Regions from separate parts of the Homo sapiens genome. Here region 1 is linked to region 2. The links are contacts of gene promoters, found by promoter capture Hi-C in blood cells and fetal thymus (Javierre and others, 2016). All regions are on one chromosome and are shown on one strand. Each heading gives the region's core, a stretch centred on a gene start or on the middle of the fragment in contact. The rest is flanking DNA. Distances are from core to core; before and after follow the strand shown. Region 1 holds the start of CAMTA1-AS3 (CAMTA1 antisense RNA 3). Region 2 holds the start of CAMTA1-AS2 (CAMTA1 antisense RNA 2).

Region 1 (3,560 bases), core at 260-2,759, 380 kb before region 2:
CTGGGCTCTGTCCTTGGATTCCCTGTCTGCCACTTGTGTGCAGACTCACATCTCTAAATGTAGCTTCCCGCCATGTGCCTGCGGGCTGGACTTCCCGTCTGAGCTCCCAACTCACCGTCCAGCTGCTTCTCGGGAACCTCCACTTGTCTCGGGTATAGAACCTGAGTGTCTGTAATCTCTCCCCACATCTGATCTGGCTGCTGCTTCCCAGTAATGCCAACTTCATCCTGCTAGTGTCTTGGGCCAAAAGCCTTGGGATCATCCCTGAGTCCCCTCTCTCGTCTCCACACGTCCAGACCTTCAACAAACCCTGTGGCCGTGACTTCAAAACACACTCGTCCCTCATTGCCTTGTGCCGCACCTCCTCCGTGCCAGCACTTCTCGCTGGGGAAGTTGCAGACCCTTCTACCATTCTCCAGGCCCTGCCTTTGCCCTTCTTCTTTTTTTTTTTTTTTTTTTTTTTGAGATAGAGTCTCGCCAGCCTGTTGCTCAGGCTGGAGTGCAGTGGCACGGTGTTATCTCACTGCAACCTCTGCCTCCCAGGTTCGAGATTCTCATGCCTTAGCCTCCTGAGTAGGGATTACAGAAGTGTACCACCATGCCCGGCTAATTTTTGTATTTTTAGTACAGATGGGGTTTCGCCATGTTGACCAGGCTGGTCTTGAACTCCTGGTCTCAAGTGATCCACCCACTTCAGTCTCTCAAAGTGCTGGGATTACAGGCGTGAGCCACCACACCTGGCCCCTTTGTCCTTCTTGAGTCTTTTCTCAACCCGGAAGCCAGAGCCATTCTGCTAAGATCAGGCCTGGCCGTCCTCAGTGCTTAGGTAAGCAGAGTGTGGCTCAGCTGTGCACTGTTCCTGGCTGCAGGTGGCAGAGGTGGAGTCAGGGATGGAGCCAGGAGTTGAACTTTGGAGTGCTGGACTCACCGCCCCCCTGGTGTGGACAAGCCCCTCTGTGATCTGCTGGTTCTACATTGTGTTCTTGGTGAGGAGGGCAAGGATACTTTTGCAATTCTCAACTTCTGGGAGCTGGCGGAACTTCCCTTCCTGTCTTGCCTCCACTCCTCAAGGCCTCAAACTATCCCATAATGCTCGGCTTCCTTGTGACTCCTCTTCTTCAACCCCAACGACAAGCAGCCAGCTGAGAGCCTCCTCCAAAGTCAGAGACAAGGAGCTTGGCAGTGGACCTGCTGCCAGAGGCAAGGCCGTGATCTTGGAACATGGAAGCCCAGCACATTTGCTTGTCCTAAAAATACAGTTCTTAAAATAGACCAGTCCATGTGGGAGATAGGGAACCTGTCGAGTGCGGTTCTGAAGGGCTTGCTCTGCCAAGGGGACCGGCTGGCTGGGGCAGCGCCTGGGCAGGGCTGTGTGCCTCAGAGGGTGCCCTCAGCCGTGGCAGAAGCCACAGCCTGGGTTTGGGGTACCCTGTCTGGCTCTTGTTCTTCAAACCCCATCCAGAGGCAGGCCGGTCTCTTACCTGCTCGATGTCTGCACATAGGGAAACCTGAGTTGAAGCCGAGCCTTGGGTTAGGCCCTGCAAAAGCTGCAAACAACAGTTTGTGTTTGGGGTGTGAGGCTATAAACAGCCCAGGAGTCCTGAGGGGGTTGGAGAGTTGGTCAACCGTGAACAAGCTGGAGACTGGCTCCTTCTTCCTGGGGATCCCAGCGCCCACTACAAAGGTGAACTCCTTTTTGCTCCCTGCCCCAGCCTGCCCCATTAGACAGGGCATGGTGAGGCGAATGGCTGCAGGGACTGAGGCCTTTCTGTAACTAAAGCCCAGCCCAAGTATAGGGAGCAATGGCCGAGCTTCTGTTTTAAGGCAGCAAAACAGCGTGCGAGCTTGGTCCCTTAACACGGAGTCTGGAATTGTTTCTCATAACCCAACGCTTGGCTTGGTTTCAAAAAGGAAGCCTCTCCTCTCGGGTATCATGACCAGGCTCCTCGTAAGAGGTGGGACTCAGCCGAGGGGGCCAGTCTAGAGGTTACACATTCTGAGCTACCTTTCGGGGTCTGTGGACCCTCTCAGACCCTGCAGCATGTCGGGGGCCGGGTGGGGGAGCGGGTGGTGGCATCAGTGGGTTTCTGATGAATGCCTGGAGTTGTTTGTATAATTGGGGCTCTGTGTGTCTTTTTTTGGAGGAAGAGCTTCTTTCACATTCCCTGACTCAAAAACCACAAGCTAAATGATCTGTACATTGTCCTCCAACTCTGAGAGCCTCTGATCCTATTATTCCAAGTCAAGAAATTTTGAAAATTACAGGATAGAATTCTTTCTCAGAACAGATGCTAGGGATTTGTAAGTTTCCATTCCCTGTGCTGCCCTGGTTTGCTGGATGGACGGATGTCTTGGAATTTTCAAGACCTCCAGTCCTCAAAGAGGTTCTTCTCACCTGCTGTCCTGGTGAGCTGCATGGGCCTCCCTCCATGGTGACTGTGTTGTTGGACCGAGTGGGATCAGTTGAGTGGGAGGCGCTAATGACCGGATTTCCTACGTTGTCCCCTGCTCCCCTGACTCTATTCCTCACTGAGCCAGACAGACTCACCGCTTCCAGTGTCTGTGGCATGTTCCCACTGTCCACCCTCACGGTTCACATTTTCTGGAATGTTCTGCTCTTCCCCCTGTCCAGGTCCTGTGTGTCTTCAGGGTCTGGTCAGATGTCTTCCGGTGAGGCTGCAGCTAAACTTAGCCTGCCCAGCCTGCCTCTCCTCTGAATGCACATAGTGTTGACATTTTTTTCAGTTTAAAAAATTTTATTTTAAAAATGATCTTACAGTTAAATTGACGTTTTTGGGGCTGTGCCGTTCCATGACTTTTAACCCATGTTAGCACTGCCACAAGTAAGGGACAGGGCAGCTCCACCACATCCTGCAGTGTATTCGTCTGTTTTCGCATTGCTATAAAGAACTACCTGAGACTGGGCAATTTATATAGAAAAAAGGTTTAATTGGCTCACATTTCTGCAGGCTGTACAGGAAGCGTGGCTGGGGAGGCCTCAGGAAACTTAGGATCGTGGCGGAAGGCAAAGGGGAAGCAGGCATGTCCTGCATGGCTGAGGAGGCCTCAGGAAACTTACAATCATGGCAGAAGGCGAAGGGGAAGCAGGCATGTCCTGCATGGCTGGAGCAGGAGGAAGAGGGTGAAGGGACAGGTGCTGCACACCTTCAAACAGCCGGATCTCCTGAGAACTCACTATCATGAGAACAGCAAGAGGGAATCCTCCCCTATGATTCAGTCACCTCCCCCAGGCTCTTCCTCCAACATTGGGGATTACAGTTTGACATGAGATTTGGGTGGGACACAGAGCCAAACCATGTCATGCAGCCACACCCTGCCCCATCCTAACCCCCCGAAATCACTCATCTCTGCTCTGCCACCATGGGTTGGTCTTTTTGAGAATGTCAGATGCAGGCTGGCTTCTTTCCCTCAGCCTGACACCCGTGAGAGCCGTCTGAGTTGGTGTATGTGTCAACAGTTGGTTCCTTTCAGTGGCTGGGTACGCGTCCTGTCTTATCCACATGTTCTCTTGGTGAATTTTGCCTCATTGTGTGCATGTC
Region 2 (3,675 bases), core at 293-2,792:
GCTGCACCTGTTGTCATGGCCACTGTGGATGTGAGCGGCAGAGCTGCAAACACGCCTTGCTCCTCTGAGGTCAGCCCATGCCGGCTGCCCTTTGGGTGCCAGCCAGGCCGTTGTGCTGCAGGGAAGGGAGGAGAGGAGCCTCTCTTCTGGGTGAGCCAGACAAAAAGGAACCTCTCGTGGCGTTTGTCCCAGCATCCTCTGACCGTGAGCCTTCCGATGTGCCTGCCTGGTATGAACAGAAACGTGGATCCAACCCACACTCCTTCCTGATTTCAAACGTCCCTGTGAATCGGATGGGACGTAGTTAATAGCCCCTGTCTTCCTGGAAGGAAATGTTCAGGGAGGACTGGTGTTGGGAAGCTAGAGGGGAGGCGGCCCGGCCTTGGAGCCCAGCCCTGTTGGTGTTGCTCTCTTTGGCCCTGGTGAACGTCCTGGCCTTGGTCTCCTGAGTCCAGGGGGCCTGGCCAGCAGCCTGCCTTCCTGAGGCCCAAGCCCCTGGTTCTGACTGCTGATGCGCCTCCTGGGAGCGTTCCTGCCCATCTCCACTTGGAGTTACCAGGAACTGAGTTGTTGGTTCTGCTGGCAGCTCCCATCCTGTCCCATGGGGGGTTCAGACACGGAGACCAGTGCTGGAAGGCCCTGAGGCCTCTGAGCCCTCCAGCCAGAGCCAGGGTGTGCCCAGTGCATGCACTGCTGTGTCTGCCTGGGCTGGTCTCCCCACCAGACCGAGCTTCCTGCCGGACTGGGGCAGGGCCCTAACGCTCTGTTGTTACACTCTCCATCCCCGTGCCATTCAGAGCCTCCCAGCACTGAGTAGGCACTGCACGGCGAGAGGGAGGGGGAGGAGGAAGGGAGTCTGGCTCTGTGCCTGTCCCCGGCTGCCTGGCTCTGACTGTCAGAGTCACTCTGCAGCAGCACAGAGCGAGTCCGCTGGGTGCTGTGAGACGACCCTGGAGAGATCCTCCCACCCCCAGCTGTCTCTTCTCTAGCCTGTTGCCCCCAGCTCCATCCCTCCTAACCCTACCCCTTGGCCAGCTCTCTGGGCTCTGGGCTCGGCAGGAGCCTCTTTCCCCCATGGGCTCAGTCAGTGCTCCCCCTGCAGCCCTGCTGGGTCTCCCTGGAGCTCACCATCCGGACTCGGGCTGTGTGGGCACTGGAGTTCTTGATGTCACACACGTCAGCGTGTTCCCTTAGCACTGTGTGAACACGACCCTGTCCCCTGGCCGGCCTGGGAGATGGCAAAAAAGAATGGAGTGGCTCCCTGGCAGGAAGTGCAGGAAGGCAGGGGCACAGCCCCATTGCAGCACCCCTGCCAGCACAGGCCAGCTTCTCCACTGATTTGCCCTTGACTGTTCCCTTAGAAACAGACATGAGTGGCCACAGGCCGAACGAGGCTCCGTGGAGAGAAGTGGGGGCAGGTGGTGGGTGGGTAATTTATCTTACTTACTGTAGGGTGTGGGGGTAGAAAGCCAGGGCTGAAAATCTTGCTTCTCTAGGAGGTGACTAAAGGCCTTCACAGTGGTCTGGACAGGAAAGGGTGGAGTCCAAGCACAGGGTCCCCAGAGGAGTGTGGTGAGGCCGAGGGAGGAGGGACCCAGGCAAGGGAATCTTGGAGGAGAAGGCAGGACAGTTAGCCCAGACTAGGGTGGCCGGGGCAGGCTCTGTGAGGCTGCTGTTGGGGGTCCCGTGGCTGCAGAGAGGTTTGCTTTCCAAGTCAGGGCCACTAGTTTCCCTCGGATGCTATTTGTGTCCCCCGCCTTCCATTGTGATGCTGCACAATAACTTTTACAGCCTGGCCTGGTGCCTGGCCTGCAGCCCTGAATCACTGATTCATCTTTACCTGCCGCTTCCCTGCCGGACGGCTCTGGGTGCAGGAGCCAAGAGCCCGGGCGACGGCGCAGGGCTGGTTCCTTCCCACTTCTGCCCAGTCACTTCCCCACCCTCTGAGGACCCTGGAGAAATTCAGCCAGGGCCTGGGCCTCTAGGAGCTGCCAAGCCTCCCTCTCTTAAGCAAAGCGAGCTTAGGGTTCACAGGGCCAGAGCAAGAGGGTGACACAACCCGCCCAGGGTGCCTGCCTTCTCTAAGCATCTGACACAGCTCAGGGACCTGCTGTCCTCAGGCTCATTCCAGGTGGGTGCCTTGGCCCTGGGCCTCAGACCAGCCTCCCCTCAGAGCTCTATCTGGACCCTTGTGATGGATGCCATTACTTGTCTGACATGTCCCCAAAGGAGCCCGCAGATCCCACTGCCAACGCCAGTACCAGTGCACGGCCCAGGATTGGCCCTGCTGCTTACTACTCCTGAGCCCCTGCAAGTGAGTTCTGCTCTCTGGGCCTCAGTTTCCTCCTGTCTACAACAGGGTCGCTAGTAGTGCCTGTGGCAGTAGGGTTGCTGTTCAGACACCCAGGCTGTGAAAAGTTCCTGGAAGGGACCCCACCCTACAGAAAGCACTCAGTACCAAAGAAAGCCTCATGGGTGTAAATGAATCTGCTCCACTCTGCAAAGAAAAAGAGCACCTCTCCCCCACATGCATTCCTACGGGGCTTGCAGCCCTGGTGCCCTCACTGGCTGCCATTGAGAGCCTGTGCTCTGCACCGCCCGCCAGGTGTGCCAGGGTGACGTGACTCCACACCAAGCACTGGGGGCTGGACTTGTTTAGCCATTTCTCTCAAGATGGCCATTTCTACACTTTCATGAGAAGGAGGCCTCGCCTCCGTTGGAGTGGCTGAGTGGTGCATCCAGCTGGTTCCTGGGACTGGGGACAGGTTTTAGTGCTCCGAGAATCTGGGTTGTTGTTTTTTTTTTTATGGAGTTTTGCTCTTGTTGCCCGGGCTGGAGTGCAGTGACGCGATCTCGGCTCACCGCAACCCCCACCTCCCAGGTTCAAGTGATTCTCCTGCCTCAGCCTCCCGAGTAGCCGGGATTACAGGCATGTGCCACCATGCTGGGCTAATTTTGTATTTTTAGTAGAGATGGGGTTTCTCCATGTTGGTCAGGCTGGTCTCCAACTCCTGACCTCAGGTGATCTGCCCACCTCGGCCTCCCAAAGTGCTGGGATTACAGGCATGAGCTACCACACCCGGCTGTATCTGGATGTTTTATGCATCCCTTTACACAGTGTGTGTGTGTGTGTGTGTGTGTGTGTGTACATCTTCAGCTGATCCTTCAAAGTCTGTGGGTTTTATTGTCATCCCCTTTTTATAGATTAGGAAGCTGCTGCTCAGACGGATTAAATCATTTGGCCCAGGTCATATGGCTAAGGGGCGCTTGGTGTCCCGCACTTCTGGAGATACAATTAACATATGGTAAAAATTCCGACTTTCTGTGGCCATTCTGAGAGCTTTGGCAAATGTATGTGGTTTCCATCAGCTTGGTCCAGTGATCACCACCACAATCAATATGGAGATGGTTTCTATCAGCTCAAAAACTCACTGCACCTCTTTGTCAGATAAGCTGCTCGGCGTACTCCAGCCTCTGGGAATGAATGGCCTGTTTTCAGTCCCTATAGCATTGCCTTTTCCAGAATGTCATATAAATGAAATCATACAGGATGTGGCCTTTTGAGTCTGGCTTCTTTCGCCAGACATAATGATCCTGAGATTTATCCATGTAGTTGCATGTATCAGTACTTCCTTCCTTTTTATGGGTGAGTGGTGTTCCATGGTGTGGATATAC

The links. Contacts are between HindIII fragments. The CHiCAGO score rates a contact against its expected background, and 5 or more counts as called.
Region 1: the fragment with the promoter of CAMTA1-AS3 here is called in contact with the fragment with the promoter of CAMTA1-AS2 in region 2 in 7 of 17 cell types (M1 macrophages, total B cells, neutrophils and 4 more); the score reaches 11.9 in M1 macrophages.

The regions. Positions count from the first base shown.
Region 1 is chr1:7,012,770-7,016,329 of GRCh38, forward strand. CAMTA1-AS3 (CAMTA1 antisense RNA 3) reads right to left here and starts at 1,510. Exons shown (of 2, transcript NR_182292.1): 1 at 1,482-1,510. All of the region lies in intron 3 of CAMTA1 (calmodulin binding transcription activator 1), which reads left to right. The HindIII fragment of the contact is 7,421 bases long and covers 1-3,560 here.
Region 2 is chr1:7,388,212-7,391,886 of GRCh38, forward strand. CAMTA1-AS2 (CAMTA1 antisense RNA 2) reads right to left here and starts at 1,543. Exons shown (of 3, transcript NR_146199.1): 1 at 1,448-1,543; 2 at 1,129-1,228. The region is part of intron 5 of CAMTA1 (calmodulin binding transcription activator 1); the gene reads left to right. RefSeq lists an enhancer at 1-455. The HindIII fragment of the contact is 18,859 bases long and covers 1-3,675 here.